7 separate regions of the Homo sapiens genome follow, and all the other regions are linked to region 1. The links are contacts of gene promoters, found by promoter capture Hi-C in blood cells and fetal thymus (Javierre and others, 2016). All regions are on one chromosome and are shown on one strand. The core of a region is centred on a gene start or on the middle of the fragment in contact, and the rest is flanking DNA. Distances in the headings are between cores, read along the strand shown. Region 1 holds the start of NDUFB6 (NADH:ubiquinone oxidoreductase subunit B6). Region 2 overlaps SMU1 (SMU1 DNA replication regulator and spliceosomal factor). Region 3 overlaps APTX (aprataxin). Region 4 overlaps LOC124902140 (a long non-coding RNA gene). Region 5 has its middle 58 kb from the start of APTX. Region 6 has its middle 76 kb from the start of APTX. Region 7 overlaps DNAJA1 (DnaJ heat shock protein family (Hsp40) member A1).

The links. Contacts are between HindIII fragments. The CHiCAGO score rates a contact against its expected background, and 5 or more counts as called.
Region 2: a contact is called between a fragment that was not itself captured here and the fragment with the promoter of NDUFB6 in region 1, in 1 of 17 cell types (M1 macrophages). The highest score is 5.0, in M1 macrophages.
Region 3: a fragment that was not itself captured here is called in contact with the fragment with the promoter of NDUFB6 in region 1 in 14 of 17 cell types (M1 macrophages, M0 macrophages, M2 macrophages and 11 more); the score reaches 18.1 in M1 macrophages.
Region 4: a contact is called between a fragment that was not itself captured here and the fragment with the promoter of NDUFB6 in region 1, in 12 of 17 cell types (naive B cells, monocytes, fetal thymus and 9 more). The highest score is 9.9, in naive B cells.
Region 5: a fragment that was not itself captured here is called in contact with the fragment with the promoter of NDUFB6 in region 1 in 1 of 17 cell types (M0 macrophages); the score reaches 5.5 in M0 macrophages.
Region 6: a fragment that was not itself captured here is called in contact with the fragment with the promoter of NDUFB6 in region 1 in 1 of 17 cell types (M2 macrophages); the score reaches 7.4 in M2 macrophages.
Region 7: a contact is called between a fragment that was not itself captured here and the fragment with the promoter of NDUFB6 in region 1, in 15 of 17 cell types (M2 macrophages, M0 macrophages, M1 macrophages and 12 more). The highest score is 14.2, in M2 macrophages.

What each region holds. Positions count from the first base shown.
Region 1 is chr9:32,571,428-32,575,136 of GRCh38, forward strand. It overlaps NDUFB6 (NADH:ubiquinone oxidoreductase subunit B6), which reads right to left and starts at 1,732. Exons shown (of 4, transcript NM_002493.5): 1 at 1,454-1,732. The coding sequence starts at 1,633. RefSeq lists enhancers at 1,280-1,819, 2,090-2,139. The HindIII fragment of the contact is 6,496 bases long and covers 592-3,709 here.
Region 2 is chr9:33,046,951-33,050,772 of GRCh38, forward strand. SMU1 (SMU1 DNA replication regulator and spliceosomal factor) reads right to left here. Exons shown (of 12, transcript NM_018225.3): 11 at 1,156-1,308; 12 at 1-441. The coding sequence ends at 343. Among named protein-coding and RNA genes, the nearest start is that of DNAJA1, 24 kb to the left of the region's middle. The HindIII fragment of the contact is 491 bases long and covers 1,685-2,175 here.
Region 3 is chr9:32,985,414-32,989,547 of GRCh38, forward strand. It overlaps APTX (aprataxin), which reads right to left. Exons shown (of 8, transcript NM_001195248.2): 3 at 2,670-2,716; 4 at 2,131-2,433; 5 at 558-617. Among named protein-coding and RNA genes, the nearest start is that of APTX, 14 kb to the right of the region's middle. The HindIII fragment of the contact is 2,055 bases long and covers 740-2,794 here.
Region 4 is chr9:33,002,269-33,006,293 of GRCh38, forward strand. It overlaps LOC124902140 (a long non-coding RNA gene), which reads left to right. Exons shown (of 2, transcript XR_007061454.1): 2 at 1-477. It also overlaps a transcript of APTX not described here. Among named protein-coding and RNA genes, the nearest start is that of APTX, 2.7 kb to the left of the region's middle. The HindIII fragment of the contact is 833 bases long and covers 1,947-2,779 here.
Region 5 is chr9:32,941,286-32,945,086 of GRCh38, forward strand. No RefSeq gene overlaps it. Among named protein-coding and RNA genes, the nearest start is that of APTX, 58 kb to the right of the region's middle. The HindIII fragment of the contact is 3,420 bases long and covers 497-3,801 here.
Region 6 is chr9:32,923,888-32,927,564 of GRCh38, forward strand. It overlaps the pseudogene BOLA3P4. Among named protein-coding and RNA genes, the nearest start is that of APTX, 76 kb to the right of the region's middle. The HindIII fragment of the contact is 3,149 bases long and covers 1-3,048 here.
Region 7 is chr9:33,027,113-33,031,212 of GRCh38, forward strand. DNAJA1 (DnaJ heat shock protein family (Hsp40) member A1) reads left to right here. Exons shown (of 9, transcript NM_001539.4): 4 at 2,773-2,877; 5 at 3,328-3,555. Among named protein-coding and RNA genes, the nearest start is that of DNAJA1, 3.9 kb to the left of the region's middle. The HindIII fragment of the contact is 755 bases long and covers 1,646-2,400 here.

The DNA of each region.
Region 1 (3,709 bases), core at 482-2,981:
TCAGGTATAGTCATCTCCCTTATTTATTGATCAATGACACTCACATCATTTTAGGTATAAGGCAGACAACCTTGACAACGCCAATGCTGGAAAAAGGACGTTTTACATACTAAGATGGGGTGTCCCAAACTCACTCCAAAATGCCCTCTGCAACACTATTTTAAAAAAGAACTAAAAATGGAACTTTCCCATGTCTTCCAACTTGATTAAAAAACACCTATCCATTCAAGGAAGGGACAATCCAGAATCTAAGAATTATAACAGATATGATTATAAAAGAATAAATTAAAGTAAGGTAAGGTGAACTTCGACACATTATTATTTATTTACTTCCTTATATCACTTGCTGATGGATGGGATGTCAACTTTAAATCAGTGACTGCCAATATTCCGATAATGTCAGGGATACAAAGGGTGGGAGAAGAGTTGAATTTTACCACCATAAATAAGTATCCAATATCACTTTCTCAGAAAAATTTTCAACAATTCTATTGCACTAGACTTTGTAGCACAGTAAGAATCAGATACATGTTGATTACAATATGAACTCATATTCAATTCCTAGCTCCCTGACCACCAGCAAATCACTGAAGCTTTGTAGGCCTCAGTTTCTTCACATTTAAAATGAGGATTAGGAATATCTACCTTACAGGAATAAAGAAATGAAGTAACACATGTAAAACCCCCAGTAGAGTGCCAAGCACACAGCAAGCACCCGTGTGTTACGTAGTATTGTTACTACTATTATCCTGTCATCAGTAAGTGTTGCAGGTAACTGAAAGCAATTCTGAGATGTTTATCATCCATAACAGTCCTCAAGAAAATACCCAGAGGCCTTGAAAATAAAGTTCTTGAATGAGTGATTTTCTTCAAAGCCCAAAATGCGATTTTTTTAATGAAACACTGTGTTAAAAGTACAGAACGGTAGTTTAGAAAGGTAGCTCTTGAATGTGACTCACAAGGCATACCAACAGGACCCTGTCTTTTACGGGGATCACATGGGGCTGTACTATCAGCTAGGGGCTGGCTGTGCCCTCTGGTGGTTGGATACTGTGTTACTTGGTCTCTAGAACCTCACACTTAAAAGTCAGACAAGTGTCCTCAAATACTTAAATCACAGAATTTTAATTCTAGCGAGTCCTTGGTTATTATTCTGAGGGAAGATTTCTACAGTCAAAAGAGAACCAAACGTGCAGCGTCCTGGAAAACCTAAGTATTAAAATTCGCCCCCGTCCACTGTACTTGACAGTAAAAGGCATGATTCTCTCAAAGCCATACATATTCCTGGACTCCTGCCTCCCGAGACTCCAGGAGGACTCTCGGGACTGGCCAGTGTCCCAGAGCACTGAGCGTTATCAGTCCTTGGTGTGGCTGCAGGGAGCGGACGTTCAGTGTTCAGGCTGCCGGCAGCAGTGGGATGTGTTGGGGGGGACCGGAGAGGTCTGTCACTCACCATTTTCCTCCAAGGGGATTTATTCTCCAAAAATTTATTCCAGAATTTCTCCATAGGCCCCATCTTCTGTGGGGGCAGCACCGGCTCCCGAGGGCTCAGCTCCTGGTCCTTCAGCCATCGCCTTCTCAGCTCTCGCAGCTGCTGCAGCCGCAGTTTCTCATCCGGAGTGTACCCCGTCATGTCGCCGCTGGTACCAACGCAAAAGGACACGGCGCACCCTCGAACTACGGACTAGTTACTTAAGCGCGCTCCCGCTCTGCAAAGCGACCTTGCGGGAACGCCGAGCGCCGCGCGCGGTTATTACGTCACATCCTGGTTCCGCCTCTGCAAGGGCCCCAGATTCCTCGCGAGGAAAGCAGTGTGTGGGCATGCACAAAGGTCTCCACCTCCAGTTCTCTCTACGCCCACCTCCGCTATACCCGACCAAATTAGGACCGGGTGGGGACAAGGAGTACTCGTAGTTGTGGGGCCTGAGGAAAGTGACAGATTAGACGAAAGTATGCTAAATTAGAGGACTGGAGGTTTTGCTAAGGAAGAACTTGTATGCTGGGAGGAGGAAGGATAAGCATAAATGTTTCAGTGAATATGCTGGCCAGATTCAAAATTATTTGCTTGCCTCTCCCACCTTGGAATGACCTAGAGAGTGTATGAAAATAGTTACATCCCAGTTCAAATCCCAGCTATGCCAGTAACTGCTGAAGTGCCCTGGGCAGCTGTCTCATCTGTCCCTCCATCTGTACAGGAATAGTGAAAAGAGTAGCTTAATATCTAGCAAAATTGCATAGATGAATTCATGCTTTCACCCAAAAATACGTGTGGTGAAAATATGAAAGAGCATGCACGACTATTCAGCACGATTCATAATACCAAAATATTGGAAATTACCCCCAAATTCCTAAATAAAGGACTGCTTGAATAAATTGTAGTACAACAGTCAAAAGACAGCATTACAACGAATTAGTTTAAAAATCTTAATTGACTCTTATTCGTGATTCTAGAATCAAAAAACACCTCATTCTATAAAGTAGAATGAGTGTTCTGATCAGCTGAGCAGAGGCGGTTGGTTTTATTGGCAAATAGGGGCTGAAGAAAGCAGAAACCGAACAAAAAGTGGACTCATCGTTTCAAAGTTACTTTTAGGGTTAAAGCAGAAGAAACTTCCTTGTTTCACTGACTCAGACTTAAGGGAATTTCCTATTTTTTGGGAAACTGGCCCATTTCAAAGTTCAGTTTGATTGTGTGGTACTTAGCACAAACGACTCCATTCTGGTTTGGTCTGGTCTGCTGGGGCCTAGTGCGTGAAGCTAGTCCAAAACAGTGGCTTCCCAAAAACTTTCACACAACAAAGCAATGAAATGCTAATACAATCGTCAAAAGTAATAAGGAAGAACTCTATATACATCTGTGGTGTGATCTCCAGAATACATTACAAAGTGGAAAAAAAATGGATAGGAATTTGTACAGTATGCTTTTACCCAAAAAGAGAAAGATGGTGGTAATTTCAATATATATACATATTTTCTTAAATTTTCAAAATAATGGGAATGAAAACAATTGAGGTTTTTAAAGATGCTACCTATGGTGGAGGAAATAAATAGGATAGAGGAGACAGGGATAGAATCTAGACATCTCTGGAAACATCTTACTTCATAAATTTGACTTTAGAACCAAGTAAATATTTCATATTGTGAAATTAAATTTAGCTTAAAGATGTCTCCGTATTTTGAGTCCTTATATAATGAACTGCAACCCAACTTAGTATGCAATTTAACTCACAGCCTAACTTAGGAATATACTTCTGTAACAAATAACTGAGTCTCAGCCAATCATCACAGGTGGTCAACTGATCAGCCCATGTTCAAATAAGGCAAAGGCCAACCTGTAGCCAATCAAGCTGTTTCTGTATCTCATTTCTGTTTTTTTTCTATGCGTGCTGCCTGGCCTCTTTGTGGAACGATACTTTCTGAACCTCCTCTGGTTCTGAGGGCTGCCTGATTCTCAAATTGGTCATTGCTCAATTAATTTCTGCTAAATTTAATTTTTCTAAAGTTTTAATTTTAACAATATCATTACAAAACAAAATTAAATTTACAAAAAGCAGTCCATAAAAATCAAGTAAAAACCAGTAGCTCTTAATTGGTCCACTTGGTGGCATAATCTCAAAGGTACACATCATTCTAAATACAATAGCCCTTGTAACAACGCTAGGGTTAGTAGTGCCAATCCCCTCCACTTGGCACAATCAAACATCCACAT
Region 2 (3,822 bases), core at 680-3,179, 480 kb after region 1:
TTACAAGTTTTACTATGGGAGGGACATTTTCCTCAGCATTTCAAATAATCAGAGGAGTAGAATTTTTTTCTAGAAATATCAGTATTTCACTCTCCAGGTCGAAGATTAATGAAAACATTAAGTGACTGCACCAGTTAGAAGAAGATAAACTAATACCTTAAAAATATATAAAAAAAGAAAGGGTAGTTGCTACTTAAACATGAATTTTCACAAAATTATTCTGTGACTAATTCAGACAATCTATTTGCTTAGAAAAGCTGGCAAAAAAAAAAAAAAGCACATTACATGAATATGCTTCATTTAAGTACATGCTTTCGAGCTGATTTAAAAAGAAAAGTTGAATTATGGTTTCCAGAGCTTTAGGAGTCCATCTTCACTGTAGGTAGCAATCAGGTTCTGATGAGGGTGATGTGCAATACCAATCACATCCTTCTCGTGCACCTGGAACATGTAAAGCACAGGGTTAGGATGTACAGATCTGCAATAAATCACTCTGATGAGGCTTCCAGAGGTGGGTGGAAGGGAAAAAGAGATCTTGGGAGGCCACATATTCCAAATGGCATAGGAGAAAGATGGAGGAGGGTTTTCCAACTCACATCACATTGTGACATAATAATAAACTTTAGGCTGGGCGCAGTGGCTCATGTCTGCAATCCCAGTACTTTGGGAGGCAGAGGCGGGTGGATCACTTGAGGTCAGGAGTTCAAGACCAGCCTGGCCAACAGGGTGAAACCCCGTCTCCACTAAAGATACAAAAAATTAGCCAGGAGTGGTGGCATGTGCCTGTAGTCCCAGTTACTTGGGAGGCTGAGGCAGGAGAATCACTTGAAACCAGGAGGCAGAGGTTGTAGTGAGCCGAGATCACACCACTGCACTCCAGCCTGGGTGACAGAGTGAGACTCCCTCTCAAAATAAAATAAAATAAAATAAAAATAAACAAACTTATATAGTGTTAAGCCACCGAGATTTGGGGATCATCATAGCAGCTGACATTAATTTTACTTCTTGAATTTGACATGGAGCTAAATGTTTTAAAACAACATATTTTATACTGAGGGTCACATCGATAGCTCTGGAAAAGGCACATACTTCAGAGTTCAGAAAGACACAAGTCCTACCATATTTCTTTAGATGAACTTAGTAAGTAATACTCACTGTCAAAGTTCTCTCCAGTTTGCCAGTGACTGTACTGAAACAGTAGAGCACAAAGTCCTCCCCTACACAGTAGATCCATTCACCACGGGGAGAGAGGGCACAGCAAACAAAGTCCCCACCTTCTCTTTTACCAGAACTGAAGCTTCTGACAATCTAGATCACACCACACCCCAAGAAAAAAACATCAGGATTAGTAGCAGCTCAACCATGTGCAGCATTTTAAACTGACATTTTTACGTTGTTATTTTGCACTTTGGTTTACTATCATTTGTAATTAGATCTCCAGTCCTGTTCATCATGTGCTAACTCCCCTTGCCTGGGAAATATTCAATAGATAAGTAATCTAAACTAAGTGGCAGACAAAAATTTAGAATTCATACATCCCACGTCACCAATCATGCCCTAAAGAGACATATTACCCTTAAGCAAATTTCATTGCCATACAAAAAACAATTTTCTAAATCAATATACCAGTATTTCTCAAAGCTTTCTGGATGTCTGCTCTCCAGTTTCCTCTAACAGAATGAGAAGCTTTCCCCATACAGGATGACACTCAGTCTCTAAGACTTTGCTTGCTCTATTGATACATTAAAATCATCATAAACCAAGCTGAGAGAAACCAATCTGAAAAGGCGAACAGTTTACATACTATATGCTTCCATTTCTATACCATTTTCAAAATGACAAAATTATAATAATGGAAAACAGATCAGTGGTTGCCAAGGGTTAGGGCTTGGGATTAACCTGAAATTTAAAACATGATACCATTTACATTAGCAGCCCCAAAGTGAAAATACTTAGGTATAAATCTAACAAAATACATACAATATTTAAATGAGGAAAATTACAAAATTCTGATGAAGGATATCAAAGAACTACACAGAGATATTCTATGTTCATGAACAGGAAGACTCAATATGGTAAAGATGTCAGTTCTTCCCAACTTAATCTACAGATTTCATACAATCCCAATCAAAATCCCAGCAAATTATTTTGTGGATATTGACAACCCAATTCTAAAGCTTACGCAAAGAGGCAAAAGACCCAGAATAGCGAACTCAATGTTGAAAGAGAAGGACAAAGTTGGAGGGCTCACAATACCCAACTTCAAGATTTACTACTAATCTACAGTAATGAAGACAGTGTGGTATTGGATCAATGGAACAGGATACAAAGCCCAGAAATACACTCAACTGATTTTTGACAAAGTAGCAAAAGCAATATAATAGAGAAAAGATAGTGTTTTCAACAAGAGATGCCATAATTCGACACTTACATGCAAGAAAATGTATCTAGACACAATAAAATAAAGACCTTACAGTCTTCACAAAAATTAACTCAAAATGGATCACAGACCTAAATGTAAAACTCAAAACTGTATTTAAAACTCTTAGAGGATAACAAAAAAGAAAATCTAGATGATCTTGAGTTTGATGACTTTTTAGATACAACTCCTAAGACATGATCCATGAAATAACTGATAAGCTAGACTTCATTAAAATTAAAATTTTCTACTCTGTAAAAGCCACTGTCAAGAAAATGAGGCCAGATGCAGTGGCTCATGCCTGTAATCCCAGCACTCTGGGAGGCTAAGGTGGGAGGATCACTTGAGGCCAGGAGTTTGAGACCAGCCTCAGCAACATGGCATGACCCCATTTCCACACACACACACACACACACACAAAAGTCGGGCATGGTGGCACGTGCCTGTAGTCCCAGCCACTTAGAAGACTGAGGCTGGAAGATTTCTTGAGCCCAGGAGCTCAAGGATGCAGTGAGCTATGATCATGCCACTGCACTCCAGCCTGGGCAATGGAGCAAGACCCTGCCTCAAAAACAAAAAAGGAAGAAAATGAAAAGACAAGCCATGGACTGGGAGAAAATATCTGTAAAAACCAGATTTGATAAAGAACTATTATCCAAAATATACAAAAAACTCTTAAAACTCAACAGTAAGACAACAACCCCATTGAAAAATGAGTCAAATACCTGAAACAGAAACCTCACCAGAAGTATAGAGATGACAAATGAGCATATGAAAAGATTTCTACATGTGGAAATGCAAATTAAAATGAGATACCACTACACACCTATTATTTGAATGGCCAACATCCAGAACACTGACCACACTCAATGCTGGTGAGGATGTGGAGTAACAGGAACTCTCATTCACCAAGGGTGAGAATACAAAAGGATACATCCATTTTGGAACAGTTTGATAGTTTCTTACAACTAAACATACTTTACCATACAATCCAGTAATCACACTACTTAGCATTTACCCAAAGAAATAGAAAACATATTCACACAAAAATCTGCACATGGATGTTTATAGCAGCTTTACTCATAATTGCCAAAACTTGGAAGCAACCAAGATGTCCTTTGGTAGATGACTGGATAAATAAATGTTATTAAGCACTTAAAAAAAAAAAAAAAAAAAAGCCGGGTGTGGTGGCTCAGGCCTGTAATCCCAGCACTTTGGGAAGCTGAGGCGAGTGCATCACGAGGTCAGGAGTTCAAGACCAGCCTGGCCAAGATGGTGCAACCCTGTCTCTACTAAAAATACAAAAATTAGCAGGGTGCAGTGGGAGGCGCCTGTAATCCCAGCTACTCGGGAGGCTGAGGCAGGAGAATCGCTCGAACCCGGGGGCCGGAGGTTGCAGTGAG
Region 3 (4,134 bases), core at 517-3,016, 410 kb after region 1:
AACCTCCACCTCCCGGATTCAAGTGATTCTCCTGCCTCAGCCTCTCGAGTAGCTGAGATTACAGGCATGCACCACCATGCCCAGCTAATTTTTTGTATTTTTAGTAGAGACAGGGTTTCTCCATGTTGGTCAGGCTGATCTCGAACTCCTGACCTCAGGTGATCCTCCCGTCTCGGCCTCCCAAAGTGCTGGGATTACAGGGATGTCTGACTGTTAATGCCAGGGCAGCACAGTACTACTGTCACAGTGTATTATCTCTGATGCTCCCCTGAAAGGAACCATACTAAGGTTAATGCAACTTCCCTTAAAGTACCCAGAAGTTTAAAAGGCACAAGGCAGAGGGGATATTCATTTGAAGAACTCAGCTTTCTCTCCAAACAATGACAGCTGCTACTTTATTGCCAATGTGAAAAGCCTCTTGTTCTCACAGAACAGCCCAATAAAATGAATCTCATTCAGAAAGACTGATATCCTTTGATTTCATTTGTAATTAAGACCTCTGTGGAGTGGTCATTTACAACATGAAATGTACTGAAATTCCAAAATTGTATTCTGACCTGCATTTTGGGGTCCTGCATAGAAATCTTCAAGCCTTGACTCCAGTGGCCCAGGGATTCCTAAAAAAAAAACAAAAAAAAAAACAAAAAAAAAAAAAAACAAGCAATGTAAATTACAAATGCCAATAATTAAATTTGGCAACAGTTAATACTGTGTGATAGCACAACTAAACTTGGAAATAAGCTTAGTTTTTGAGAATTAAACAAGATTCACTTGACTCTGCTTCACTCCATTGCCTTCCTATATTCTCTTTTTTTTTGAGACAAAGTCTCACTCTGTCTCACCCAAGCTGGAGTGCAGCGGCGTGATCACTGCAACCTCCGAAGTGATTCTCCTGCCTCAGCCTCCCAAGTAGCTGGGATTACAGGTGCCCACCACCACGCCCAGCTAACTTTTGTATTTTTTAGTAGAGACGGAGTTTCACCAGGTTGGCCATGCTGGTCTTGAACTCCTCACCTCAGGTGATCCACTGGCCTCCACCTCCCCAAGTGCTGGGATTACAGGCGTGAGCCACCACACCCGACCCTATATTCTTTCTTTTTTTTTTTGAGATGGGGTTTCGCTCTTGTTGCCCAGGCTGGAGTACAATGGCGTGATCTCGGCTCACTGCAACCTCTGCCTCCCGGGTTCAAGCGATGCTCCTGCCCAGCCTCTGGAGTTGCTGGGATTATAGGCATGCACCACCACGCCCAGCTAATTTTGTATTTTTAGTAGAGATTAGGTTTTGCCATGTTGGTCAGGCTGGTCTCGAACTCCTGACCTCAGGTGATCTGCCCATCTCGGCCTCCCAAAGTGCTGGGATTACAGGCGTGAGCCAGCACACCCAGCTGTTTTTTATTATTGTTGTTGTTTTTTGAGATGGAGTCTCGCTCTGTCGCCCAGGCTGGAGTGCAGTGGTGCAATCTCAGCTCACTGCAACCTCCGCCTTCCAGGTTCAAGCAATCCTCCCGCCTCAGCCTCCCGAGTAGCTGGGATTACAAGCATGTGTGTACCACCAGGCCCAGCTAATTTTTGTATTTTTAGTAGACATGGAGTTTCACAATGTTTGCCAGGCAGGTCTCAAACTCCTGACCCTCAAGTGATCTGCCCACCTCGGCCTCCCAAAGCGCTGAGATTACAGGCGTGAACCACTGCACCCAGCCAGCCTTCCTATATTCACAGCTGGCTGTTCTAAATGAAGGCGAGAAATGCCAGAGTATGAGTCATACCTTCTTTGCCCTCTCTCACTGCAGCTACAGCCTGACCAATTCTCCACTTTGACATCAGCATATGAATTACATGATCTATGAAAACCTTCTATAGATGCATAAACAACTGATCCACTTTAGTTGTTCAATGTTAAGTACACACTGCCATTATTGTTGTACCTTCAGGTGGCTTACCTCAGGAATTTAAGAAAAAAGCACATAAAGGAACATTCATCCAAATGATTTTCACGCCACAAACAAGTGACTCTTTCATCATGGTTAATAACCCCTCACGCATTTCTGAACTTTAAAGTGTACAAAACAATTAAGCAGTCATTATATTTCATTTCTTCTCCACATCATCTACCAATCACACTACCCTCACCTTTTTGATAGGTGCATCTTTTCCCTTCTTTAGGGGCACAGAGCATTGGCCAGAGTTGCTCCCAGGTTCCAGCCCTGTCCCAGCCTCAGCTTCCTGAGCAGCATCCCTTTCTATAGAATCACTGTTGCCTGATCTCTTTCTCTTCCTGTGTGTTTCCAGGCCAGGGTTCTTTGCCTCTTCCTCAAACTCTACAATATATGGATAAAGTTCATTCACCATGTGGAGAACCTGGCCAGGCTGCAGCTTCACCTCTTGGTCCTTCCCAATTACGACTGAGTCAATGCTGGTGGGATTGACTCCTACCTATGGAATAAACAATCAGAAAATAATTATAATAATAGCAACAGCACCTACAGTAAGATAGCCACTGCTATGTTAACCACTTACTATATGCCAAGCACCTTGCCTTATGTTCACCTATATTACTCCATCACTTCCATACATGACAGAGAAGCCTTCACTGGCTGGCACAGACACTCTAAAGTCAACAGCATAAGAAAATCATCGAGTATAAAATTCCAAGTTATAAATACACCTACCTGCTTTACCTTGACATATCCCTTGTTACACTCTGCTTTCAACTGTACTGAAAGAGATTGGAAAAAGTTAAACACAAATGCAACAAAGAACCAGGCACTTGCTCCTATCTTCCCTAAAGAAAACAAGCTTCACTACAGGCGGCAGCTGAACAGGTGGTGTTTCCTTAAAGGCCTATTAGCAATCACCTGTTATTGCAGGTGGCTGGAGCTCCAAATCCTACCAATTTCTAAAGGTTTAAATCCTTCCATAAAATGTCCAACAGCGTACATACTCCCTTAGCTATTGCCAAGATCCCTATGAGGCAGCTTCAATTAATCCCCACAAGTTTCCCTATTCCAGAACCCCTGGCCTGCTCATGATCACAGACTCTGCCGCCAGAAAAGAAGACCTGTTTCTCCCAGCCTGGGCAGCATGGCAATACCCCGTCTCTACAAAAAAATACAAAAATTAGCCAGGTGTGGTGGCACATGCCTGTAGTCCCAGCTACTTGGGAGACTGAGGTGGGAGAATCACTTGAGCCCCAGGAGGTGGAGGTTGCAGTGAGTCAAGATCGCACCACTACACTCCAGCCTGGGCAACAGAGTGAGACCCTATCTCAGGAGGAAAAAAAAAAAAAAAAAAAAAAAAAAAGATCCATTTCTCACACGAACTCTTGACCAAGGATTAAATCAGGCTTCCACTATTATTTTGGAAAAACAACAACTATTAGATGCTTTAAAAGATAAAACAGTAAAAGACACATTCCTGGAAAACAGAAACTCAGGTGGCTTTGGGTAGAAGGAGTGGAAAGAATGTTCTAGAAAGATGATTGCAGAGACAGAACAATCTGAGCATGTGTGAGAAGTGGTAACATTAAGCATTCCTGTTCTGATAAATGAACAAGGTATCTGGAGTTGAGACAGGGAGGAAAGAAGAACCACCATAGCTGCTCCCCAGAGAGGACAGGGTGCCACATACATGCCCCTTCAGTTGCTGTTGTGAGGAAGGGAACAGAGAGAGAAGCAGCCACTGCTTCTGCATCTTGGGCCTACTCAGCTCAAGCATGGCTTTGTATCCCTCCACTTAGATTAACTCATATAGGAAAGATCATAATCAGTGCTGCAGATGCCAACTCTCTAAGTTCAGAACCCTTGGGAAACCTTGCTGTGGGGGGGTCACACTCCAGCCAGCAGTGTGCATGTTTACAGGAAAAAACAAGGTACATGGTAAGGATTTTTTTCTGAGGGCAAGGACTTTCATGTTATTAAACCCTAAGACAAGTGCTAGATGCCACTGTCTCATAATACTTTGCGTGAAGCAATATGTAAAGGACGGCACTACCCCATTACTTCTCAGAAAGACATGGTTTCACCTGTAGACTCCAGAGTTTACATCTTGCTGCCCATTGAGCAATGTCCCTGGGGAAAGGAGGGCAGGACTCAATTCCACCATCCCATGGTAACAGTATGAACTTGACTGCTCCCA
Region 4 (4,025 bases), core at 1,113-3,612, 430 kb after region 1:
TTTATAATTTTTCTCAAGTACAACACACTGGCAAAAATTCTTTGGTTGAATTAGGTTTCTGAATTTTCTGCTAGGCCCATCTGTGCACTTCCCTGTAAAATCCAGTTTTAGCACAGACCCTGGCTAAGTCAGTTTACCAAGAACCACCACCACCACCCCGCCTTATGTGGTTATTCTCAATATCTGATCAGGTTCCTTATTCTCCACTATCCCCCAGATGATGTCTGATTACCTTGGCCTGTCTCCAGCAAGAATCCTGTTAGGTATATTTAGCCAGAAACTCCTTTACCCCGATGTTTCCTCTTAGTAATTTTCCATCCACTGACCCCTACACAGCTCCTTGGCCATAAATGCCCACTTGCCCATGCTGCTGTTTGGAGTTGAGCCTAATCTCTCTTCCACTGCAAAACCCCGTTGCAGTGAGCTCTATATACCTATCATGAAGTTCCTGAATAAAGTCTTCCTTACCATGCTTCAGCAAGTATCATTGAATAATCTTTTCTTTAACAAAATTGAGATTTAAGGAGTCACATTCTTCATCAAGGTGGAGTATTGTTTCCTTCCATGGAAAAGCAGAGACTTAATGGTATGATGAAGCTATCAGAGCCTTCAAGACAGAAGGTGGGAGGATCTTCCAAGAAACACAGAGGACAGGCTTGCTTTTGTTAGCAGAGAAGATGCAGGTTTATATTAGGGTCATATAAGGAAGTGGGAAAACACAAGCAGCATCTCAGCAGCCACACAGGCCTTACAGCTGAGGAATGTTGTTCACAACTGCCCAAGATAAAAAGAGGCAACTCTGGTGACCTGACCAGTTTTGTTGTTCCCTCAATTAAGCATCCCTCTCGGTTAAGGGTGCTTCTTTGACCTGCCTTTGTGTGTCTTGCATCCAAAAGTTGGATTGGATCATTCTAATTACATCATTCACTATATAATGTGCAAAATTGGGCAGAGTTTCCACGTCCTGCTTGTTAGGCCTAGTCCATTGTCTATAGTGTATTAGTGGCCAGAAAAGCAAGATCACATGGCACAATGTATAGCTAAAGGTATGGCAGGCAGTGAAGACTTTCAGGCACTTCATATTGCCATGCTAATCACCAGAACTTTTTCATCTTGAAAAACTGAAACTCGGCCAGGCACGGTGGCTCACACCTGTAATCCCAGCACTTTGGGAGGCCAACGCAGGTGGATTACCTGAGGTCAGGAGTTCAAGACCAGCCTGGCGTGGCGGAACTCGCCTGTAGTCCCAGCTACTTGGGAGGCTGAAGCAGAAGAATTGCTTGAACCCGGGAGGTAGAGGTTGCAGTGAGCCAAGATCACTCCACTGCACTCCAGCCTGGGCGATAGAGCAAGACTCTGCCTCAAAAAAAAAACTCCGTATCGATTAAATAGCTCCCTATTTTCCCTCCCCCACCTGGCAACCACCATTCTACTTACAGTTTTCATGAGTCTGACCACTCTAGGTACCTCATGTAAGTAAAATCAGACAGTATTTGCCCATTTGCGACTGGCTTATTTCACTTAATATAATGTCCTCAAGTTTCATCCACATTGTATCATGTGTAAAAAGTTCCTTTTTAAAGCTGAATAACACTCCATTGCATGTACACACCATACTTTATCCATTCATCCACCCGTGGATATTCCACCATTTGGCTATTGTGAATAATGCTGCTATGAACATGAGTGTATAAATATCTCTTTGAGATCCTGTTTTCACAATTTGCAATTGCAAGAACATGGAACCAACCTAAATGCCCATGAACTGATGAATGCATAAAGAAAATGTCGTACATATACACCACAGAATACTACTCAGCCATAAAGAAGAATGAAATAATGTCTTTTGAAGCAACTTGAATGGAACTGGAGGCCATTTTTCTAAGTGAAGTAACTCAGGAATGGAAAACCAAATACCACATGTTCTCACTTATAATTGGCAGCTAAGCTTTGGGTATGTAAAGGCATACAGAGTGGTATAATGTTCATTGGAGATTCAGAAGTGGAGAGAGTGGGAGGAAGATGAGAGATTTTAAAAAACTACATATTGGGTGTAACTATTACTCGGGTGATAGGTACACTAAAATTTCAGACTTCACCATTATACACTTCATCCATGAAACCAAAAACCATTTGTACCCCTAAAGCCACTGAAATTTGTTTTTAATGTGAAACAATTTTTAAAAATTCTTCTTTCAATTATTTTGAATATATACACAGAAGTGAAACTGCTGGATTATATGGTAATTCCATTTTTAATATTTTGAGGAACTGTCACACTGTTTTCCATAGCAGCTGGATGATTTTACATTTCTACCAATAGTGTACAAGAGTTCCAATTTCTCCACATTCTTGCCAACCCTTTTTTTTTTTTTTTTTTTTGAGATGGAGTCTCGCTCTGTCACCCAGGCTGGAGTGCAGTGGTGCAATCTCGGCTCCCTGCAACCTCCACCTCGCGGCTTAAGGCGATTCTCCTGCCTCAGCCTCCTGAGTAGCTGGGACTACAGGTGCCTGCCACCACACCCGGGTAATTTTTGTATTTTTTTTTTTTTTAGAAGAGATGGGGTTTCACCATATTGGCCAGGCTGATCTCAAACTCCTGACCTTGTGATCCACCCACCTCGGCCTCCCAAAGTGCTGGGATTACAGGTGTGAGCCACTGCGCCCGGCCGCTTGTTACTTTTTTTTGATAGCAGCCATCCTAATGGGTGTGAAATGGTATCTCATTGTGGTTTTGCTTTGTATTTCCCTAATGATTAGTGATGTTGATCTTTTCATAAGCTTCCTGTCTATTTGTATGTATTTGGAGAAATGTCTATTCAAGTACTTCATTTTTTAATGGGGTTATTTTTGTTTTGTTTTGTTGTAGGAGTTCTTTATATATTCTGGATATTGACCTCTGATCAAATATAAGATTCCCATTTCATAGGGTGCTTTTCACTCTGCTTGCTGGCTGTATCCCTGGATGCACAAAACTTAATTGTGAAGTACTTTAATTTACCTATTTTTACTTTTGCTGCCTGTCTTTTGGTGTTATATCCAAGAAAACATTGCCAAATCTGTCATGAAACTTTTCCCTTATGTTTTCTAAGAGTTTTATAGTTTTAGGTCTTATGTTTAGGTCTTTGATCCATTTTTGAGGTGTGGTTTTATTTTTTTGTTTTTTGTTTTTGTTTTTGTTTTTGTGAGACAGAGTCTTGCTCTGTTGCCCAGGCTGGAGTGCAGTGATGCAATCACAGCTTACTGCAGCCTTGACCACCCAGACTCAAACAATCCTCCCACCTCAGCCTCCCAAGTAGCTGGGACTACAAGCATGTCCCACCAAGCCTGGCTAATTTTTTTTTTAATAGAGACAGAGGTCTTGCTATGTTGCCCAGGCTGATCTTGAACTCCTGGGCTCAAGCAATCCTCCTGCCTCAGCCTCCCAAAGTGCTGACATTACAGGTGTGAGACACTGTGCCTGGCCTTGAGTTCATTTTCTGTACTATGTAAGGTAAGGCTCCAACTTCAATTTTTTGCATGTGGATACCCAGATTTTAACAATATCATTTGTTGAAAAGACTGCCCTTTCCTCACTGAATGGTATTGACATACTTACTGAATATCATTTAATCATTTATGCAAGGATTTACTTCTGGGATTTCTATTGTATTCCATCAGTCTGTATGTCTGTCTTTACACTAGTACTGCACTGTTTTGATTACTATAGCTTTGTAATACTTTTTGAAATCAGGAAGTATAAGAACTTTATTCTTTTTTTTTTCAAGATTGTTTTTGGCTACTCTGCTCAGGGTTTTGTTGTTTGTTTGTTTGTTTGTTTGTTTTAATTCCAACAGTTAGAAATGAGATCTCACATGAAAACCTGGATTCTGGCTGGGCTCAGTGGCTCATGTGTGTAATCCCAGCATTTGGGAAGATGAGTCAGGAGGATTGCTTGAGGCCAGGAGTTCAAGATCAGCCCAGCCAACATAGCAAGACCCTCTCTCTATAAAAAAAATTTTAATAAAAAGAATTTTTTTTAAAAA
Region 5 (3,801 bases), core at 957-3,456, 370 kb after region 1:
CAACCTCTGCCTCCCAGGTTCAAGAGATTCTCCTGCCTCGGCCTCCCAAGTAGCTGGGATTACAGATGCCTACAACCACACCCAGCTAATTTTTGTATTTTTAGCAGAGACAAGGCTGGGCATGGTGGATGTGGTTCATGCCTGTAATCCCAGCACTTTGGGAGGCCAAGGCAGGTGAATCACCTGAGATCAGGAGTTTGAGACCAGCCTGGCCAACATGGTGAAACCCTGTCTCTACCAATGTCCCCTTTCTATTGAAAGATTCTGTAGCTTGCCCTTTACTATCCTGAAGTGAAAATCATGGATCACGTAACCTATCTGCACTCCTAATTTTTAATAATACAATATCTTTAATATAAAGGAAAAAAAGCAAAGTAATTAAATAAAATACTATGCTCAGACACACCCATACCTACTAGAAAAGAAATCCTACTAATCTCCAAACGGCTGTCCCCATCCCCATAAACACTTCTGGAAGCAATAAAGAGCCAAGGAAAGCTTTTCAAGCAGAAAATAACTTCATATCTTAGCCCAAGTTCCCTAGAAAACAGAGCTTAAGGGTAGGATTAAGGTGCTAAAATTTTATTGGGAAGTAAAGCCTCAGAGCAGTGAAGTGAAGGAAGAATTGAAAACAAATGCAACTGCTTACTGCTTTATGACAAGCCATAAAGAGGCAAAGCCCATTTTAGCTTTACTCAAAAGCTAAAAAGTACACTGCTTGGCCACACAAGATGTCCCTGGACAGGGTATGTGGGAAAACCGTGCCCCGGACAAGTCCATGGAAGGGACTCCTTTCTCCTGCTCGTCAAAGTTGCCCCAGAGGATTTAACCCTGACTTCTTTACCCAGAAGTAGGGGAGAAGCCAAGAGTATGGTTGGTCGGCCTCAAGTGGAATTGCAGGGGCTTGCATAGAACAATAATCCAAGGGTCTGTGAAATTGATCAAGCTGAGAGAATCTACAGAGGTAGGGAAGATGTGTCTGATATACATGGTTAGATTTGCGTTTTCAAAAAAATAATCCCTAGAAGCTGTAGAGTGTGGATTTGAAGGGGGTAGAAGGTGGCAACAGCAGGGAGACAAAAAGACCAGATAAGAAGCTGGGCCAGGCATGGTGGCTCATGTGGGTAATCCCAGCACTTTGGGAGGCCACAGTGGGTGGATCACCTGAGGTCAGAAGTTCGAGACCAGCCTGGCCAACATGGTGAAACCCCTGTCTCTACTAAAAATACAAAAATTAGCTGGGCATGGTGACACACATCTGTAATCCCAGCTACTTGGGAGGCTGAGGCAGGAGAATCACTTGAACTGGGGAGGCAGATGTTGCAGTGAGCTGAGATCACACCACTGCACTCCAGCCTAGGTGACAGAGTGACTCTGTCTCAAATAATAATATTAATTAATTAATAATTCAGCAATCACTGCAGAAACTCAACCCTGTCAACTGAGCCAAATTTCTGAAAAGAAAATAAATTGTTACTTATTTTTAAATAAAAAAGAACCTTATTTACTGTTGGGAGAAAAAGCTGAGTGTCCGGAGAGAAGCTGAGGCAGGGCTTGCATGTCTGCTAGACTTGCTTGGCTCCTTGCTTCTAGCACTCCCATTATCTCAAGCCGCCATATGTTTTTCATTCACTTGATACACTGTTTCCTTTCAACCCCCACATCCTCACCACCTGTTTCTTTGTTTGAGCACCACTAAATAGTGTGGGCTCCCAAAGCTCTGGGCCTTCACAGGCTCCACACTCAGGATGGCCCCCTGGTCCGACTTTCTCTCTCAAACTGTCTTTTTCTCATTCCTTTGACTCAGCAGGACTTCGTTGCCCCCACGACCTGGTGTTGGGTCTGATCACCCCAACATTTACAGATAACAAGTAAAAAATAATCATAAGTAAACAGACAACATGCTGCTTAGAAATGGAAGAATCATGCTTAGAAATGGAAGAATTGTTCTTAGAAACACTGGAAAGGATATCATCAGGGTTTTCTAGCGCAGTCAGTAAAGTTCGGATCAGAAAACTTCTCCTACTCCACATGCCCTTATCACACTCCCACTCAGTGTGTAAATGATTGCCTGAAGTGTGGACGGTGTGTGCCTGTATATCAAAGATATGAAATAAACATCAGTAGGATCCTTATGATGCACTCAGAGAGCAGGGGTAGTGTCTTTAGCTAGAGGAGTAGCTGTAACTTTGTCTCCGTTTGTTATGTTTGAAGGCATGTAGTTTGCTCTCTGATATACCAGAATCCAATTAACTCAAATGGTTTATAGACCACACAAATACGAGGCAGTACCTGCTGTCCAATGCCTACCACGCTGCAGGTACTCAACAAATGTTAACAAAATCCATTTGTTTATTTATGCAACCAACATTTATTGAATGCCAAATATGTGCCAAACACTGTTCTAGACATTGGAGATAGAGCAAACACATTTTTAAAATTTCTCTTTTTTGTATTATAAAAGTATTAAAGATTGTGCACAAAATGAAGCAATACAGGGATATATTAAAAAAAAAAAAAACTTAATCAGCCCCGTCCATACCCCACATCTTCCAAACCTACCCCTCTGAGGTAACCAATTACTTTTGTTTTTGTTTTTTGAGACAGGCTCTGGCTGTACTGCCCAGGCTAAAGTGGAGTGGCATGAACATGGCTCACTGCAGCCTTGATCGCCTGGGTTCAAGTGATCCTCCCACTTCAACCTCCTGAGTAAGCTGGGGCTATAGGCACATGCCATCACACTCACCTAGTTTTTTAATTTTTGTAGAGACTGGGTCTATGTTGCCCAGGCTGGACTTGAACTCCTGGCCTCAAGAGTTCCTCTTGCCTCCGCCTCTCAAAGTGCTGGGATTACAAGCATAAACCATCATGCCTGGCCCAATGTATTTTTTTCTAATATTTTTAATTGACAAAAATTATATAATTTATTGTGTACAATATATTGTTTTGAAATATGTATACACTGTGGGGTAGCTAAATTGAGCTTATTAACGTATTACTTCACATACCTATTTTTTTTGAGGTAAGAACACTTAAAATCTAATCTTTTAGCAATTTTCAAGAACACAATGCATTGATATTAACTGTATTCACCATACCGTACAATAGATCTCCTGAATTTATTCCTCCTAACTGAAATTTTGTATCCTTTGACCAACATCTCCCCAACGCCCAATTCTCAGCCTGATAACCACTATTCCACTCTCTGCTTCTATGAGTTCAACTTCTTTAGAATTCACGTACAAACGAGATTATGCAGTATTTGTCTCTCTGTATCTGACTTATTTCACTTAATATAATGTCCTCTGGATTCATCCAGGGTGTCACAAATGGCAGGATTTCCTTCCTTCTTGAAGCTGGATAGTATTCATATATAGCATTTACATTTTATTAGGTATTATAAGTAATCCAGAGATGATTTAAAGTATATGGGAGGGGGCTGGGCATGATGTCTCACACCTGTAATCACTGCATTTTGGGAGGCCGAGACGGGAGGATCACTTGGGACTAGGAGTTCAAGACCAGCCTGGCCAACATGGTGAAGCCCCGTCTTTATATAAAAAAATAAAAGTATATGGGAGGATGTGTGTAGGTTATATGCAAATACTGTTATCATTTTATATCAGGGACTTGAGCATCAGCAGATTTGGGTATCCGCAGGGTGTTCTGGAATTAATCCCCTACAGATCCCAAAAGATAACTGTGCTTGGTCACTTGTTTGTCTTTTTTTGACAAATGTCTATTCAAATCCTTTGACCATTTTTTAATTGCATTATTTGTTTTCTTACAATTGAGTTGTTT
Region 6 (3,677 bases), core at 224-2,723, 350 kb after region 1:
GGAAATAATTCAAGTAAACCACAGAAGAAGCACTTATCGTTGATTACAATTACCACCGTTACAGTGAAAGAGATCCAAGTTTCCCCGAGTTACTGGCAGCATATCTGTATGGGTCCAAAATTCAACCGAGGGGCATAAAGCAGAAAAGAGACCAAGCCAAGTTTCAGAGAAGGAGTGGAAGTTTATTTAAAAGCCTTTAGAACAGGAAAGAAAGGAAAATTAGCTTGAAAGAGACCCAAGCAGGCACTGAAGGTCCAAGAGAGAAATGAGAGCAAAAGAAGACAGCAAAAGGGGCCTTTGACCTTGATCTTTATAGGTTCGCCTTTATAGGGGACTATATAGGCTCGCCTCTCTCCCAGGATTCTTCCCTTAGGGTGGGCTTTCCGCATGCCCATGCTTTCCTTACTCTTTGGAATTGAGCACACACAGTGAGTTTAGGGAGTTGTACACATGCCCATCTGAGGCTTTCTTCCTTTTCCAGTGGAGGGTGCCCCCAGAAGATCATATTTCACCATTTTTGTCTCTTAACACGCATGCCCAGGAAGTTGCTTCTCCCTGGGGCCTGCATTCAATTAGCATTTTGATGTTAACAGGTGTGAACCATCAGGAAATGGCCTCTCCCTGGCGCTGCCAAATTATAAGTTTTAGAGAAGCGATGCAATAATTGCCAAACCATCACCCGACATTTCTAGTGGGTGGAGGGAGAGCCCTCTCCTGCCCCACTCATGCCTAACTACCTGTAGCACTGTTACTAATACATCATCTTCATAACAAAGGAGAATAAAGAGTGAAACCTGTTCACAACATTTTCTGTGCTTGCCCTGGACTTTGAACTGCTCATCCAAGGTTCTCTGAATGTTTGGAAGTAGTTTAGCCTAGTGGTGAAATTCCTAAATTGTCGCCTTTCTCTACTTCATTTCTATCAGTGGGTCATTCCTTCACTACTAGAACATTTGACCTGCACAGCACAGGTAAACATAAGACTTAGAATCCCTAGGCAAGGCCATACCTGGTGGGGAGGATTCCGGTCCTGACAGCATAGGCATGAGAGTTGTCTGAAGCAGACACCATATAGGGCATGTTGAAGGGCTCGCACTGACTGCACTCACAGGGGGCCTCTGGATCCAGGCCATCTCTAAGCCTGGAAAGAAACAGAGCCGGTGAAGATGCTTTATTTCACTCTGCACACCAGACCACCATGATCAGGTTTTGAGAGGAGGATTTTTAATGGCATGCTGTATGGAAAACCACTGGTTATAGAGTGTTATCCAAATATCAGTACTATCCTCATTCCGTAAATGTAGGGGTCCCATTAATTTACTCTCAAAGGGATATATTTCCAGGTGTGGTGAGGAGGCCAGCCAAGGCTACATTTCCTAATTCCTGATACCTCTCCTCCCAGTCTCGCTCTAGTTTCCACCATTTGTTAAAAGTTTACTGGCTGACAGGATTTTTCTAATTTCTAATTTTCAGAAAAGCAAAATTTCCTTACAACATGTGATCTCTAGAGAGCAAATGCTCCAACTGTGCTCCTTACAGCTTATCTTTGGAATTACCAACATAAGAACATGATTTTCCCTAGAGATTTTAATGCTGACTCCAGAGACTCCATCTAGCTCATCTTTGAAATCACAGTGTGAAGCATAGGGCCACAGTCAATGTTCATTCGGCCAAGACTACATGCTTGGCACTGAGCTAGTCTGTGATTTCAAAATTAACACACAAATGACCAAACATATAACTCAAAATTAATATAACCCACTCTTTGGGCCTCCAGGTATGACTACAGATCCGATGCAAATCATTTGTGAGTATTTCTGATGCATTAAAAATCATTTTTTAAAGATGCTCAATAATACAACATTAGGGGAAAGCTGGGGAAATTTGAATAAGGTCTGCAATTTAGTTACAAGCATTGTACGAATGTTAATTTCCTGGTTTCATGTCCTGGTTAATTTCCTGTCAATGTTAATTTCCTGATTATGTAAGATGTTAACAGGGGTAGCAGGGTGAAGGGTATAAAGGAACTCCATTTAATTTTTGCAACTTTTCTTTAAGTCTAAAATTATTTCAAAATAAAAGGTCCAAAAATTCTTTTAAAAAGGATGCTCAGCTTTCAGGTGGCCCAGTGGCCTAGGGCGGCGGGCTACATCAGTCAGACACAGAGATGTGGAACCCTGCCCTTGTAGCTCCTCTCCACGCAGGATCTGCAGGCTTCCTCTTCTGCACTGTGTTCATTGAATGTTTGCCTCCCAGACTGACGGGGAGCTCAAAGGGACCCAAATTCTCAAAGAGAAGTTTTCTGGAGCTACAGCTATCCAAGTCACTGACATTTCAGGAGGCTGTAGGTGATGTATAAAATCCAAATCAAACCAGAAGAATTTAAAGAAACAAGAACTGTCCCTCAGCACCAGATGATTAATCAGGCACTAAAAAAGGAAAATCAAAGGGATGCACAGATGGTGGGTATTTACCTCTGTCCCCAGACACTGACCTCCATGCCCCCGGGGCTGTGTAGATGCAGCTGCCTAAAACTTCGGATGAACTTGACTGGAACCACTCTTTCCTACGCATTTGCAAAAAAAAAAAAAAAAAAAAAGTATCTGTTTTGTTCGTAGACATTTCCATACTACAATTAAAGAAGAATGTGTTATCTATTTAGAGGTTAATTAAAGGCAACAGACAACTGGTGGAGGAGAGAGGTGGGAAAAGATGTTCAACTCAAAAAACAGATGGAGATCTGAGCATAGGTGTCTGAAATGACTAAGGAAATGTAAAACTGGGACAAATCTCATTGGTGCTAGAAATTAAGGAAAGGTACCATCCATGAGCCAAAAAATTATTCTAGAGATAATGATATTGGTAGCCAAAATGAAGAAAGGGGACAAAAGCCAATGTCCAACTGACGTCTCATAGAAAATTAGTGTGTCTGGTGGGAAGGACTTAGAGGAGAACCTGAATCCCCTCAACATCCACTCTCTCGGAGGAACTTTAGAGCAGTGGATCTAAGGGCCTAAGAAGGTAGGAGGGCTGGGGGCCCAGGGCATAAGCTTCAAACCAGAGCAGCAGCAGTGGAAGCAGGAGGCACATCTTCCCAGTGCAGCAAGGCTCAGCCCCGAGACAGCAACAGCAATGTCCAGAAGAGGCTGGGCAGGACACAGGGCATTTCCTTCCCTGAAAAAGCTGGCAGGAGCGTGAGGAAAAAGCCCGGCGGCAGCAAGTCTGACTCCCAGCACAGTCATTTCCTCAAACGAAGACGGTTGTGCCATATGTCCCACCAGGCCTGACCAAGGCTTAACAGCCTACACATTTCTCTCAGGCTGTGCCATCGCTGAGCAAGGAACCAGCCTCCAGCTCCAGTTAGGAGGGAGATCCTAAAAGCATCTAGAAGTGAGAATACCCAAGAAATATCCTTACAACACCATCTTGGATAGAATCTCATAGATCAAGTTTGAATAAAAACAAACAATAGCCGGGCACGGTGGCTCACACCTGTAATCCCAGCACTCTGGGAGGCTGAGGCGGGTGGATCACCTGAGGTCGGGAGTTCAAGACCAGCTTGACCAACATGGAGAAACCCCGTCTCTACTAAAAATACAAAAACTGGCCGGGCGCGGTGGCTCAAGCCTGTAATCCCAGCACTTTGGGAGGCAGAGGCGGGTGGATCACAAGGTCAG
Region 7 (4,100 bases), core at 773-3,272, 460 kb after region 1:
AAATTGCCTCTGATTTATGGTGTCGTGTTTTTTTGTTGTGGTTTTTTTTTTTTTTTTCTTGAGACGGAGTTTCCCTCTTATTGCCCAGGCTGGAGAGCCATGGCGTGGTCTCAGCTCACAGCAACCTCCACCTCCCGGGTTCAAGCGATTCTCCTGCCTCAGCCTCCCAAGTAGCTGGGATTACAGGCATGTGCCACCAAACCCGGCTAATTTTGTATTTTTAGTAGAGATGGGGTTTCACCATGTTGGTCACGCTGGTCTTGAACTGCAAACCTCAGGTGGTGATCCACCTGCCTTGGCCTCCCAGAGTGCTGGGATTACAGGTGTGAGCCACCATGCCCAGCCAGTGGTGTCGCTTTTTTTAAAATGAGATTTAAGGGGCCTAAAAAATAGCCAACAGAGTGGTAGCAAATGACTGCTTCCAAAAATCTTAGATATTATCAAACAAATTATGAGAACAGGCCGCGTGCTGTGGCTCATTCTGTAATCCCAGCACTTTGGGAGGCCGAGGTGGGTGGATCACTGAGGTCAGGGTTCGAGACCAGCCTGGCCAAGATGGTGAAACCCCATCTCTACAAAACTACAGAATTAGCTGGGCGTGGTGGTGGGCATCTGCAATCCCAGCTCCTCTGGAGGCTGAGGCAGGAGAATCGCTTGAACCCTGGAGGCAGAGGTTGCAGCGAACGGAGGTCACGCCACTGCACTCCAGCCTGGGCAACAAGAGTGAATCTCTGTCACAAAAAACCCAAAAAAATCCAAAAATTAGCCAGGCATGGTGGTGCGTGCCTGTAATCCCAGTTACTCAGGAGGGCTGAAGCAGGAGAGTCGCTTGAACCCGGGAGGTGGAGGTTGCAGTGAGCTGAGATCGCCCAATTACACTCCAGCCTGAGCAACACAGCGAGACTCTTGTCTCAAAAAAAAAAAAAAAAAAAAAAAAAGACAAAGTATATAGCAATATAATTTTCCAAGCCCTTTTTACAGATCTTATTTGGTGTTCCCTCACTCCCCAAAGGAATTTGATGGTAGGTACAGTGGCCTTTTTCAAATGGGAGTAAGTTAAAGTTCAGAAACCTAAAACTTCTTCAAGCTCATATAGCAAGCCAACAGAGCCAGGGCTGAAAACTGGTTCGTTGCCTGCCATCTATCTATTCTTGTTTCAGCTTTATTGTGTCAAAATTATGTATTTAATATGTTTATCAGGAAAGTGGCCTATGGGCTCTAGAAATACTGCTTATAGGAGTAAAATGTTCAAGAGAAATCAGTCTCACTTTATTTCCAGTATAGTGTATACAAATAAGGGCTGATGAGCAGAACCAGTTTTAGAATGAATGGCCAAGCCATTAAATTTCACTTTGAGCTTCTTAAGGTTCAGAAAGATTTGGGAAATTGTTTATTCAGTTTTTCTTTAAAGATCTTCAAGGAAAGGATTATGTTTTTATTAAGATACTTAAACTCCTTAAAAAGAAAGTCCACAATCCAAATGACTTGCTTAGTAAATTGTTAGAATTTGTCCACAAAAAAGTAGTGGTGGTTTTTCACTTACCTTACAAAGAACCTGCAGGTTAACATTGGCAAGCTCTTTTATGTGGCTTATGATCATATTGAGAGGTTATTTCTGGGGAAATGCGCTTCATCAAGCTCTAGAAGCTTTATTTTTCCTTCCTTATACTCAACACTGTTCAAAATAAGGGCAGCTAGATTTTAGCGTGCCAAAACTAAAGGTGGAACTATAAGCAGAAGGACATAATTAATGGTATTTCATGCTTGATTAGAAAGTTAAAATGTTCATTAGGCATATTGTACAGAAACGAGTTTGAGAACTTTTTTCAGTTGGTGGAAAGGCAATAATATTGTTGTGAATAAGTCCTTGTGGAAGGACCACTAGTTAGGAACTTACTAACTTACTAGCAGGTGACTTCATACTTCTAACCTCAGTGTCCTTATGAGATCTTGACCTTCCATTTCCTATTCTGATTTAAGTGAAGTAAGGCACTCCTTAGTAGCCACTGGCCATGTGTGGCTCCATTAATTTAAGACAAAAACAAAAATACGGTTTCTTAGTCTAAATGGCCACATTTACATGCTCAATAAGCACATGTGATTGGTGGCTGCTACGTTGGACAGAACAGATATAAAACATTTATCACTGCAGAAAGTTCTGTTGGGCAATGCTATTATAAAAGGTATGAGAAATTTGGCCTTCAAAACAACCAGTGCTGGCCCAGCAGTAAATGGGCTGTTTTCTACTAAATCAGGAAGAAGTAGAAATTGATACTCTTCTGTGGTGACTCAATAAATACATCAGCTTCCCTGGCCAATCTTGATTAATGAGAATTTACTGTGCTACAGAATTTTTGGATGAAGTAATTGGCCATGTTGCTCAATACGGTACGAAGTGAAAGCTTCAAAAAATATATTGTGACAGAAATGAATGTTTGGATTATTGTGAAATGTGCCCTTTTAAATAACATTGGTTTTTCTCAAGTGACTTTGAAGGTAATGCTTTTGCTTACCATATTTCCAAGATGGCCACGTCTGTGCCCTTAAGCAAATATTTAATCTCTGACCTGATTTTCCCTCATCTGTGATTACATCACAGTTTGAGGATCATCTGTGATAACGTGAACATTCTGTGTATATAGTAGGTAGTCAACAGATGTACCCTGTGAGGCTCATCTTTTATTATTCTTTGCCACATTCTTTATAGTGCCTTTAGCACAAATAAGATCCAGCATCTTAAACAGATTTGCAATGAGAAATATTTTGTTTTAGGTAAAAATGTTGTACATCAGCTCTCAGTAACCCTAGAAGACTTATATAATGGTGCAACAAGAAAACTGGCTCTGCAAAAGAATGTGATTTGTGACAAATGTGAAGGTACGGTGTTTTTTTGTTTTGTTTTGTTTTGTTTTTAAGCACCTTTAATATGACACCTGAAAATGGAGCTAAGACTTCTAGATAGATATGTAAAATTGATTCATGTACACTACCTAGATTTTGGGGGAGGAGAGGGCAGATATGAAGAAAACCAACTGAAAACCTCCCACCTAAAGAAATATCAGCACTTTTTTCTGTGTATATTTTAAATACAGTTGGGATCAAGCTAGTTTGGTATCTTTTTTGTAATAAGTAAAATTTATTGGAAAGTGTGTTCTAATAAGAATGAAACTCATTGGAATGATCTCATCAGTTGTACATTCAGAGGGTAGCATTCCATCAGGCTTCGAAAATATTAAAAGTATAGCATTTAGGAATTGTCTTCTTAAAACATTTACTACTGTATACACTACTAATTCATACATTATTTAATTTTCTTTTTAAATTTAGGTAGAGGAGGTAAGAAAGGAGCAGTAGAGTGCTGTCCCAATTGCCGAGGTACTGGAATGCAAATAAGAATTCATCAGATAGGACCTGGAATGGTTCAGCAAATTCAGTCTGTGTGCATGGAGTGCCAGGGCCATGGGGAGCGGATCAGTCCTAAAGATAGATGTAAAAGCTGCAACGGAAGGAAGATAGTTCGAGAGAAGAAAATTTTAGAAGTTCATATTGACAAAGGTGAGTTCTGAGTTACTTATTCTGAAGTCTTGAATGCTGTGGCAGATTTATTATTAACATTTTATAATTGTTTAAAAATCATTCTTAATTAGGTTATATATGATCCTATCAATCAGAAATAACTCTTAGCAGCTTAGTAAATAATGTTCTTTTATCCAGACATAATTTTGCACATTGGTATATTACTAATACAGAATATATTAGGAATCTCCTCATTTAATATAACAGGATCATCTTTTGAAATCTGTGGTCCTGTAAATGATTGAATAGTGTTCCAAACTTAATTCTCTCCTGTTAAACCATAGTTCTTCCATCTTTTAAAACATTAGAATTGTACACATTCTTAATTAGGAGTTACTAGATCAAGGGATAGGCATACTTTTAAGGATTTGAAAGGGGAGTTAGGTGAAGAATTGGGTCTCATAAAAATTCATGGTTTTTTTGGAGACGGAGTTTCGCTCTTGTTTCCCAGGCTGGAGTGTGCAATGGCACGATCTCAGCTCATTGCAACCTCTGCCTCCCGGGTTCAAGCAGTTCTTCTGCCT